Linked DNA regions of Homo sapiens: regions 2, 3 and 4 are each linked to region 1. Evidence: promoter capture Hi-C in human tissues and cell types (Jung and others, 2019). All regions are on one chromosome and are shown on one strand. The core of a region is centred on a gene start or on the middle of the fragment in contact, and the rest is flanking DNA. Distances in the headings are between cores, read along the strand shown. Region 1 holds the start of ZNF442 (zinc finger protein 442). Region 2 has its middle 7.2 kb from the start of ZNF441. Region 3 has its middle 3.2 kb from the start of ZNF439. Region 4 overlaps ZNF441 (zinc finger protein 441).

Region 1 (2,890 bases), core at 165-2,664:
GGTGTGGGTTCTGTCTTTGAAGTAATCTTTTGTTGGAAAGAGAATTCCAGAGGTGCCTGGTACCTAACAAGATCCAACCCCTGAAGCTTCTAAGGAAATATATGACCAAATAAGAGAGCATGGTGTGTGCTTAATAAGTATTTAGGTAAATAAATGTGCACAGGCCAGGCGTGGTGGCTCACGCCTGTAATCCTAACACTTTGGGAGGCCGAGGCCGGCGGATTGCCTGAGCTCAGGAGTTCACGACCAGCCTGGGCAACATGGTGAAACCCTGTCTCTACTAAAATACAAAAAAATTAGCTGGGCATGGCAGCGTGCACCTGTAGTCCAGTGTGCTACTCGGGAGGCTGAGGCAGGAGAATTGCTTCAACTTGGGAGGCGGAGGTTGCAGTGAGCCAAGATTGAGCCACTACAGTCTGTCCTGGGTGACAGAGTGAGACTCCGTCTCCAAAAAAATAAAATAAAAATAAATGTGCATAAGGCATGGCAGTGTAGTATGGGAAAGGAAAGGGAGTGGAAGTTCACAGCACATTCTGAGGCTGTATTTTAAGATGAGAGGTAACATCTATGCAGTTTATCTCGAAGTTATTATCTTGAGATCAGGAGGGGAAAGAGGAAAAGGGAAAGAAGAAGAAAAAAAAGGTTTAAAACGTGGTTTGAGACTCAGCTGCTAAGCTGCTGGTTACACACTCTGGGACTCAACTTCAGGAGTCAGAATCTGCCTTCTAAGCTTGAAAATATGTTTAACCTCCTGAAAGGGGGTTTCCTGCTGAACTGTGGCTGAAATTTCTCTGAACTAATTCAGGTTTTTTCTTTTCCCTTCTTTTGATTCCTTTATAGAAGATTACTGCCATATAATTCCAGATTTTCCATGCATTTAACAATTTTATTTCATTGTTGATGTGTTTTTATTTTCTGGTCTGAGAATGAGTAGATTGGGAGATAAGGTGGGAGAAAGGCTTGACCATGGAGCCAGCAGTCTCATCCTAAATTCCTGATCCCTGGAGGACACCAGGCCTTCCCTCCTGCTTCAGTGTGGTTTGTGTGGCCTGGGCCTCCCCTACCGCTCTGAGGCCAGGGGATGGCTCCACTGGGCAGTGAGTCTCGAATTCCCAGCACACACTTGTGGGTCCCCGTCCAGGAAGAAGGAGCAGGAAGAGCCCATTGAGTACAGGCAGGAAATTCCGCTTAAATGCAAATGTCCCCTGGGAGGGGTCAGGTCACAGCGAAGGGAGGAAGCCCACCCTATCAAGGGCTGTGTCTGGAACCGCTTCATCTCGCTCCACTCAGCCGTGTAAGATCCTTCTTCTGTCAATCAGTTCCCTGGGGGGGCGGAATTTGGAGCTCTACCCAATCAGTGTTGGGGGCGAGTTCTTGGGAACTGCCAGTCAGGCGCGCTGCCGGGAGGAGGGTGGAGCTTTCTACACCCCTCTGAGCTCCCGCTCCTGGCTCTGTAGCTGAGAGAAGCCCTGGCAGGTCAGTGGCAGGCACTGTCACGCTGAGTCCTATGCTGGCAGCGGGGAACCTTGGGGAGAACACGGGACACCGCGGAAGCCGGGAAATGGTGAGTGTGCGGGGCCCGGCGTCCTGGGGCAGGGCGAAGGACTGGTTGGAACCGGCCAGAACCGGCTGTGGCGGGACCCGGGCGTCCCCGCGGCGACTGCGGGGTCTGTGGACCCGAGTTCCCCTGGCCCAGCCGGCCTTCAGTCCCCTCGGCCGCGGGGTGGGAGCTGGGGGCTGGGCCGGCAGCCGGGACCCCGGGCGTCCTGTCCCGTTTCTGCGCAGCAACTGCGGCCCCGGCTCCCGCGCCCTCTCTGGGGCAGCTCCATGCCCACAGCTCCGCGTCTTCCCAGATTGTGCGGCTGTAACCGGCACAGGTTCGCGGTCCGAGTCACTGCACCGAGACTCCAAGGCCTGCAGCAGAAACAGTTTAATAGGGGGAGAGGAGAGAAGACCCCAGTTCCGCCTCCATGAGAGGTTTGGGGATGGGGGTGTTTAGGGGTCTGGACAGGGGCGGCTGAAGTGTGGGGTCGCTGGTTGGTGGGGAAGTGACAGGCGAATCCTGGGACGGGAGGTGAAGAAACCGCATTCTCCTGCTGAGTGGGTTCCCTCGTGGGGTTTTCACCCTGCTTGGCGCCAGCCTTTCCGTTGGAATTCAAGATCTGAGAAAGAACTTGGGCAACTCGAGCAGCTCTCCGAGATCTTATCCCCAGGCACAATGCAGAAGCCGGCGGTCAGTGTCTTCTGTGACCTGACTCTCAGGAAGGCGGCCCCCGCGAGGCAGTGGGGCTCAGGGTACCTGGTTAATATCTAACTGCAATCAGAATCCAGATTCTTGCGTGGGGTTTGTGCACGGGAGGAGCTGTGGTCTGCGGGGTCCCCAGTCCCTTCTTTTCTTCCCAGGGTGACTGATTCCTCTTCGAGTTTTTCAGAGATGGGGGTAGCAGGGTCTCAAATCCACTACCCTGTTCCCTCATTCTAACTCCTCCTAGGGGTGGTAGTAACTCCCTTGGTTTCCAGAGCCTTACGCAGGCTAACTTTCCCTCCTCAGTTCACAGCAACATCATGAACTCCTCCCTCCTCCGCCCCACCCGTGCTAAATTTCAGAGTCCCAGTATTTTAATTTTCATTTTGTTTTCAGAGAGCAATGGATGGCTTCTTTTTTTCTTTCTTTCTTTTTTTTTTTTTTGAGATGGAGTTGTGCTCTTGTTGCCCAGGCTGGAGTGCAATGGTGCGATGTCGGCTCACCGCAACCTCCGCCTCCCGGGTTCAAGAAATTCTCCTGTCTCACCCTCCCGAGTAGCTGGAATTACAGGCACCCACCACCACACCCGGCTAATTTTTTGTATTTTTAGTAGCGACGGGGTTTCACCATGTTGGCCAAGCTCAT
Region 2 (2,900 bases), core at 162-2,661, 610 kb after region 1:
AACAACAAAAAAAATTATTTATTATAGTTCTGGAACCTAGCAAGTAAGAGGGCTTCATGTGGTGAAAGCCTTCTTGGTCATGGGGGCTGTGCAGAGTTTCTAGGTGGTTGAAGGTATCACATGGAGAATGGGCTGAATGTGGTAGCTCAGGTTCCCTTCTTTTTTAATATGGCCATCAGTCCCACTCCTGAGATAACTCATTAATTCAGTAAGCCATGAATTCATGAATGGATTAATTTATTTATGAGGTCTGAACCCTTAAGATCTACTCACCTCTTAAAGGCCTCACCTTTCATTAGTGCCACATTGGCGATTATGTTTCAACAAGCATTTTGGAGGGGACAAACATTCAAACCTAGCAGTGAATGGCCGGGCGCGGTGGCTCACTCCTGTAATCCCAGCACTTTGGGAGGCTGAGGTGGGTGGATCACGAGGTCAAGAGATCGAGACCATCCTAGCCAACATGGTGAAACCCTGTCTCTACTAAAAATACAAAAATTAGCTGGGCATGGTGGTGTGCGCCTGTAATCCCAGCCACTCGGGAGGCTGAGGCAGGAGAATCGCTTGAACCCAGGAGGCGGAGGTTGCAGTGAGCCGAGATTGCGCCACTGCACTCCAGCCTGGAGACAGAGCAAGACTCTGTCTCAAAAAAAACAAAAACAAAAACAAAAACAAGCAAAAAACCTAGTAGTGAATGATCAGGTATGCTCCCTCTGCCAAGCATATCACAAAAGTTTGAACTCTCAGAGGGAACATAGGAGTTCAGCAGATACCATATTTTTTACATAGTTTAGGGACACTCATCCTCCATTATCGCTTATGTTGGTGAAGCCCCCTAACTAAATTTAGTTCCTAGATATAGTGAAAGGTTCAACTTTGTGAGCAAGCATTTGTAACAATATGCGGTCTCAGGACAGCTGATGTTAACTCTTCTGCCCATTAGGTAGGAGGACTTTGTCACATCAGGAATTACAAACATCCTGTACACATAGATATTAGGGGTGATCTAGGCAATAAATGTCACTCCTTTAACTCACCAAGGAGTGGCATTTTATAATTCGACTGTTATTTTACCAAACACGTTTAATTCTAGCATTAGAATTGCATTCTGGGAGAAAATGAGTTTAGAAAGAGGGTAAGAGTTGGATTACCGTGTCGTTGCATAAATGTTTGGACACCACAGCATCATGTGACATTTATGTAGTGAGTACAGATTCCCAGTGCTGTCAGTTTCAGCTTTCCTCCTCTGCACGTGTCGGGTGTTTCAGGACTCAGTGGCCTTTGAGGATGTGGCTTTGATCTTTTGCCTGGGAGGAGTGGGCTTTGCTGGGTCCATCATAGAAGAGTCTCTACAGAGATGTGCTACGGGAAACCATCAGGAACCTAGACTGTATAGGTAAGGGGGACATCATGTCTTTACTTAGTCAATTACGAATATTTGTTTCTTCGTCACCAATGCTGTTCAAAGATTTAGAATATAAAAGAAATACGTTTGACCCTTGAACAATGCAGGGATTAGGGGCACCAGCCCTCAATGCAGTCACAAATCTTCAAATAACTTTTTTCTCCCCCGCAACTTGACTACTAATAGCCTACTGTTGACCAGAAACCTTACTGGTAAGATATACATTCAATTAACACATATTTTATATGTCATATGCATTACATATTGTTTTCTCACAATAAACTAAGGCAGAGAAAAATGTTAATCAGAAAATCACAAGGAGAAAAAACTATATTTACTATTTCATTAAGTAGAAGTGGAGCATCATAAATGTTATCATCCTTATTGTCTTCACATTGAGTAGGCTGAATAAGAGGAGGGGTTGGTCTTGCTGTCTCAGTAGTAGCAGAAACTGAAGAAAATTTGTATGTAAGGAGATCTATGCAGTTCAAACCTGTGTTGTTGAAGAGTCAACTGTGGTTTGGTGAATAAATCATCCATAACTGCAGTCTACATAAAATCTTACATTTTTAATATAATTTTATTTTTATTTATTATTATTTTTTTTTTGAGATGGAGTCTTGCTCTGTCACCCAGGCTGGAGTGTAGTGGCACGATCTTGGCTCACTGCAGCTTCTGCCTCCTGGGTTCAACTGATTCTCCTGCCTCAGCCTCCCGAGTAGCTGGGACTACAGGCGCACGCCGCCATGCCCGGCTAATATTTTTTTGTATTTTTTAGTAGAGACGGGGTTTCACTGTGTTGCCCAAGCTTGTCTCGAACTCCTGAGCTCAGACGATCCACCCACCTCGGCCTCCCAAAGTGCTAGGATTACATGCGTGAACCACCGCCCCCGGCCTCAATGTAATTTTATAATAATATATAGTGATTCTTCTGGGTCTACATTTTAGGAATGAAATGGGAAGACCAAAACATTAAAGATTAGTACAAAATTCCCAGAAGAAATCTAAGGTAATTTGCCCTAGGAAGAGAAAGATATGTCTTTGGAATAATTCTTAAAGTGACAGGAAATTTTTCACACCTATAATTCCAGCACTTTGAAAGGGTGGGGGGGTGGGGCGCAGTTCAGGAGGTCGGGAATTCGAGACCAGTCTGGCCAACATAGTGAAACCCTGTCTCTACTAAAGATACAAAAAATTAGCCAGGCGTGGTGGTGTGAACCTGTAGTCCCAGCTACTTAGGAGGCTGAGGCAGGAGAATCGCATGTACCCGGGAGGAGGACGTTGCAGTCAGTCGAGATCATGCCATTGCACTCCAGCTCAGGCGAAAGTGCAAGACTCCGTCTAAAAAAAAAGACAGGAAAATTTTAAAACAAGCAAAATAAATAAATAAATAAATAAATAAAAAAGAATAATCCTGGCTTAAATTTATTCACTCTTAGAAAATTTTCTTCAAAAACATACTTAAATGGGACATAGCTGTTAAGTGTGTCTGCAA
Region 3 (2,817 bases), core at 134-2,633, 520 kb after region 1:
CAGGAGGATTACTCGAGCCCCAAAGTTTGAGGCTGCTGTGAGCTTTGATCAGGCTACTGTACTTCAGCAAGACACGGTCTCAAAAAAAAAAAAATCCCACCAAATTCCCTGGGGAAACCCTGACCCCCTTGGATGGTCTAATTGTAAAACACAGAGGGTGGTGACGTTTCCTTATGGACTGGATCATTCTAGCCATGTAAGAGGCTTGGACTACTGAGGATTTACCAGGCGGATGACCTCCTTGCTGTCAATGTAAAAGGCCCCTGGTGAAACCATCCCTTTAAACTTTATCAAATTCATCAGGGAGGAAGGGAGGAGGAAAACTTAAACCAAGCTGGCAGCACCTTCAGCATTAATCATTAAGTCAGCTTGTTCTCTGACCTTCCTCATATTTGTTTCATACCTAGTGTCCTAGAATCCCACAGACCCTAAATGATAGTTCCCGTTAACTGCTCTATAGACATCAACTTGAACATTAGATGTTCTCCCTTTGAATTTCCATTCGAAATATTTCCTTTTCAGGGCTGGGTGCATTGGTTCATGACTGTAATCTCAGCACTTTGGGAGGCTGAGGTTGGGGAATCACTTGAGCCTGGGCGTTCAAGAACAGCCTGGAAAATACAGTGAGACTCCATCTGTACAAAAAAATTTATAAACAATTGGGCATGGTGGCATGTGCCTTTATTCCCTGCTACTTGGGAGGCTGAGGCAGGAGGATCCCTTGATCCCAGGAGTTTCTGCAGTGAGCTATATGATCCCACCACTGCACTCCAGCCTGGGAAACAGAACCACACTATGTCTCTTAAAAAACAAAAAAGAAAAAAGAAATCCAGACATTTGTTGGTCTTTGGATTATTGGAGAGCATTTATCTGACACTTAGCCCAAAGTTTGATACCAATATATAGAATTATTAGAAAGGGGCACTTTGAGACTGGGACACAGCTCTGCAGGAAGCTTTCGACAGGTTAATGTGTTAGTATGCTGCCATACTAACTTCAGCAAGACCTGGTCTCAAAAAAAAAAAAAAATCCCACAAAACTCTCTGGGAAAACCCTGACAACCCTTGGATGGTCCAATTATAAAACACAGCAGGTAGTGATATTTCCCTATGGACTGGATCACAAGCCTCAGGCACACCTTTAGAGGGTAGAGCTGTGAGTTGGGATGATACAGCTGCTGCTGCAGGTACAAATTGGGCCTTATGGCAAACACAGTGTGGTAAATCAGTTCCTTTAGGATTTTGGTTGTAATTATGTCATAGAGATGAAACCAGACACTCTTGAAGTGAACAAGTGCTGGCAGTATATGATGCTCTCAAGTAGGTAGAATCCTTAAAAAAGAACCTTTCTATGACTGTGAGAATGGGATTACCATGCTCGGCTAATTTTTTGTATTTTTAGTAAAGACAGGGTTTCAACATGCTGTCCAGGCTGGTCTTGAACTCCTGAGCTCAAGTGATCCACCCGCCTCAGCCTCCCAAAGTGCTGGGATTACAGGTGTGAGCCACTGTGCCAGGCCTCCCACTAAGTTTCTTTCATTTGGCCTGGCACAGTTTCTCACGCCTTAATCTCAGCACTTTGGGTGAGCGAGGCGGGTAGATCGCTTGAGCCCAAAATCTTGGGCTATGACCACCCTGGGCAACATAGTAAGACCTAGTTTCTATTTACTTTTATTAAAAAAGAGAATATATATATATACACACACATATAAAAGAGGCCGAGCACAGTGGTTCACACCTGTAATCTTAGCGCTTTGGGAGGCCAAGGCAGGTGGATCACCTGAGGTCAAGAGTTCGAGACCAAGCTGGCCAACATGGTGAAACCCCGTCTGTAACTAACAAAACGAAAATTATCCAGGCGTGGTGGTGCACACCTGTAATCCAAGCTACTCGGGAGGCTGACGCAGGAGAATCACTTGAACCCAGGAGGCAGAAGTTGCAGTGACCCGATATCGTGCCATTGCACTCCAGCCTGGGCAACAAGAGCAAAAACTCCATTTCAAAAACAGAGAGAGAGAGAGAGAGAAAGGAAGTTTCTTTAACTCCCTAGTTGTTATGGGCTATCACTACTATCACCAGCAGTTGCCTATGAAGCAAAACCTATTCTCACAATGGGTCCAAGAGGAAAAGTAGAAGACTTGGAGACATTCCAGGTAGATCCAAATGCAGCACTTGTACGACAGTATATGGTTAATGTGAGGACTCTTGGGGTGACTTAGCTCAGGCTGGTATAACAAAATACCATGGACTCATACCATGGACTCAGTTTCTTAAACGGCAAACATTTGTTTCTCACAATTCTGGAGTGCGGGAAGTCCAAAATCTTGCTGCCAGCAATTTTGTTCCCAGTGAAGGCTATCTTCCTGGCTTACAGCTAGATGCCTTCTTGCTTTGTCCTCCCATGCTGGAGAAACAGAGAATTCTCTCTCTTCTTACTAATCCCATTATGAGGGCTCTCCTTTATAAATGTATGTGATCTCCTAAAAGGTCTGTGTCCAAATATGACCCTGTTGGGGTTTAGGGCTTGTAAGTATACATTTTATTTTAGAGACAGGGTCTCCCAGTGTGGCCCAGGCTGGTTTTAAACTCCTGGGCTCAAGGGATCCTCCTGCCTTGGCCTCCCAAAGTACTGGGATTACAGGCATGAACCACCGCACCCGGCCTCTAAGTACACATTTTGAGGAGAGTAAATGCAGGACACGCCAAGGGGTAAACAGAAGTCCATAAAAGAGGCTTTGGAAACAATGTAATCAGACAGTGTTGGAGGCTGAAAGAATGGGGGTCCTGATCAACTCAGTATACCACTGGAGGCTAATGA
Region 4 (2,941 bases), core at 224-2,723, 580 kb after region 1:
GTAGAAATTAGGTCTTGGTATGTTGCCCAGGCTGGTCATTCATAGGTGTTTAAAGTGTGATAAATGGATGATTTAAGTCTGATAGAACTTTTACACATATTATACATTTAAGCATATACACATGGAAGCTCCTGGGAGTTGGTTATGTTTACATGGTGGAAAAAAAACCCTTCAAAATAATTATTAGTTTGAGAAAAATACATCAATAAATAATTTCTACGTCAACACATTGTTTTTTGTTGTTGTTGTTGTCGAGATGGAGTCTCGCACTGTTGTCCAGGCTGGAGTGCAGTGGCGCCATCTCGGCTCACTGCAGGCTCCACCTCCTGGGTTCATACCATTCTCCTGCCTCAGCCTCCCGAGTAGCTGGGACTACAGGCGCCCGCCAACACGCCCAGCTAATTTTTTGTATTTTTAGTAGAGACGAGGTCTCGCCGTGTTAGCCAGGATGGTCTCGATCTCCTGACCTCAGGTGATCCACCCTCCTCGTCCTCCCAAAGTGCTGGGATTACAGGCGTGAGCCACCGCTCCCGGCCTTGTCAACACATGTTATATGTAAAAAAGCTAATCAAATGTGAGCTTCCAACAATTCCCTCTGCTTCATTCTTCTGACTTTCAACAGATCATGGTTAACACCAAGGGCTCTGTGTCTGAGGTTTCACATGTTTACGTCACCTATTTTAAATGGTCTCAACCTCACTCCACCACCACTGACCCATCAAATCATTTCCGCAGCTAAATCCGAAGTATTCTGTAAATAGCTTTCCCTTTCAAGGAGTCTAACTGGACTCAGGTTGAACTCCCTTGTGGCTCTCTCATGTTCCTTGATTTATTCATTTGAAATTGTCTTCCAGAGCCGGGCGCGGTGGCTCATGCCTGTAATCCAAGCACTTTGGGAGGCCGAGGCGGGTGGATCACGAGGTCAGGAGATCGAGACCATCCTGGCTAACACGGTGAAACCCCGTCTCTACTAAAAATACAAAAAATTAGCTGGGCGTGGTGGCGGGCGCCTGTAGTCCCAGCTACTCGGGAGGCTGAGGCAGGAGAATGGTGTGAACCCGGGAGGCGGAGCTTGCAGTGACCCGAGATCACGCCACTGCACTCCAGCCTGGGTGACAAAGCGAGACTCCGTCTCAAAAAAATAAATAAATAAATAGTCTTCCAGGAGAGATTGTGATATACTAAGTGAGGACCTCATCCATTTTATTTGCTTCTCTTCTCCCTAACCTGCTACACTACTTCTTCATTGAAGGCACAGAATATTTTAAACTGACCATCACTTGCTGTAAATTCTGGAGATCTCAGCACAATTCAGAAATCCACACCCTAAAGGAGTTATGTGTGGATGTTAATGCCATCCTCACCACGAGAGGGAGTTCGTTGTCTCTTTTTCTGCAAATCGGTGCAAAGCAGTTTTTTTTTTCTTTTGAGACGAAGTTTCGCTCTTGTTGCCCAGGCTGGAGCGCAATGGTGCGATCTCGGCTCACTGCAACCGCTGCCTCCCGGGTTCAAGCGATTCTCCTGCCTCAGCCTCCCGAGTAGCTGGGATTACAGGCGCCTGCCACCACGCCCGGCTAATTTTTGTATATTTAGTAGAGACGGGATTTCACCATGTTGACCAGGCTGGTCTTGAACTTCTGACCTCAGGTGATCCACCCTCCTCGTCCTCCCAAAGTGCTGGGATTACAGGCGTGAGCCACCGCGCCCGGCTTTCTTTCTTTTTTTTTAAATCTACGGGATAACACTTCATAAAAGTAACAGTGACACTATTCAGTTTGGTTCATTTATATGATTTGACTTTTCATAGGTTGTTAAGAAAGCAGTAAAGTCTGTGAACCTAATCGGATTTCCCTGACTCTGAAAAGTGTATTAAAAAAAATGTATATATGGAAAGGAGTAACTGAGGTGACAGAAAGACTTGCTGAGGAGGTGACATGTGGGATGGGACCTGAAGTAATGTATTAGTATAAAAAGTCAGGTCAGAGGATTCAAGGAAGATGGCAGAATAAAAAGCATGAAGAATCTGTATCCCCCACCTGGATTTGCATTGGCAGAATCCAACTCATGTAGCTATTTTGAAACTGCGGATACTATTAAAAGCTTGCAGCTTCCAGGGAAATAATTGGCTAATAAAATTGGGTTAATTTCGGTCAATTTCAACTCTTAGTTGAGTCAGCAGCCCTGACTCATTCCCCCTCCTCAGCTCCATGACAGGTAGCTATGCATAAGTTCTAACAGCAGTCTGCATGCAGTTTTGGGGGGCCAGGGTGGACAAAAAGGACCTGTCTTCCAAATATTGGGGATCTGCGCACTGCTTGATAATTGTTGCTTCTGATCACAGAGTTACAGACAAAGAAGTGGTGGTGACTGTTGCTGCTGCATCTCTCTCCATTTTTTGAAGGCCCTTCCCCTCCATCTGAAGTGACTTCCAGGCTGGTGCCTTTTATTTTTCCCTTAATGCTTTTATTCCTCTCCTTTTGAGAGCCACTGAAGATTAGGTTGTGCAAAAATAACCATACATGCAGAGAAAATTAGACAGTTACCACACATGCCCAGGGACAGGTGCAACTAAGAAAAGACCTGAGAAGAACTTAAGTTTACACCTTAGGCTGTTCCTCAGCCCACAGACACCTGACAATAGTGTTATTTTAAAACTATCTTATATATTTTCTTTTATTGATACATATTTTACATATATATAAGGTACACATGAGCATTTCTTGCATGCATAGAATGTGTAATGGTCAAGTCAGCGTATTTGGGGTATCCATGATCTTGAGTATTTACCACTTCTATGTGTTGGTAACATTTCAAGTCCTCTCTTCCAACTACTTTGAAATATGCAATATATTTTTGCTAACTATAGTTCACTCTAGTATGCTTTCTAACATCAGAACTTATTCCTTTGATCTAAATGGAAATTTGTACATATTCACCAATT

The links. Contacts are between HindIII fragments. The study calls those that stand out against the background at their distance.
Region 2: a fragment that was not itself captured here is called in contact with the fragment with the promoter of ZNF442 in region 1 in 4 of the 25 tissues and cell types used here (dorsolateral prefrontal cortex, hippocampus, mesenchymal stem cells and 1 more).
Region 3: a fragment that was not itself captured here is called in contact with the fragment with the promoter of ZNF442 in region 1 in 6 of the 25 tissues and cell types used here (adrenal gland, dorsolateral prefrontal cortex, heart left ventricle and 3 more).
Region 4: a fragment that was not itself captured here is called in contact with the fragment with the promoter of ZNF442 in region 1 in 2 of the 25 tissues and cell types used here (hippocampus and lymphoblastoid cells).

Annotation. Positions count from the first base shown.
Region 1 is chr19:12,364,207-12,367,096 of GRCh38, reverse strand. ZNF442 (zinc finger protein 442) reads left to right here and starts at 1,414. Exons shown (of 6, transcript NM_030824.3): 1 at 1,414-1,564; 2 at 1,854-2,295. RefSeq lists an enhancer at 1,501-1,600 and a silencer at 1,701-1,880. The HindIII fragment of the contact is 16,775 bases long and covers 409-2,890 here.
Region 2 is chr19:11,758,302-11,761,201 of GRCh38, reverse strand. No RefSeq gene overlaps it. Among named protein-coding and RNA genes, the nearest start is that of ZNF441, 7.2 kb to the left of the region's middle. The HindIII fragment of the contact is 5,499 bases long and covers 1-2,900 here.
Region 3 is chr19:11,844,088-11,846,904 of GRCh38, reverse strand. No RefSeq gene overlaps it. Among named protein-coding and RNA genes, the nearest start is that of ZNF439, 3.2 kb to the left of the region's middle. The HindIII fragment of the contact is 5,747 bases long and covers 1-2,817 here.
Region 4 is chr19:11,783,781-11,786,721 of GRCh38, reverse strand. It overlaps ZNF441 (zinc finger protein 441), which reads right to left. Exons shown (of 4, transcript NM_152355.3): 4 at 2,644-2,941. Among named protein-coding and RNA genes, the nearest start is that of ZNF491, 13 kb to the left of the region's middle. The HindIII fragment of the contact is 7,851 bases long and covers 1-2,941 here.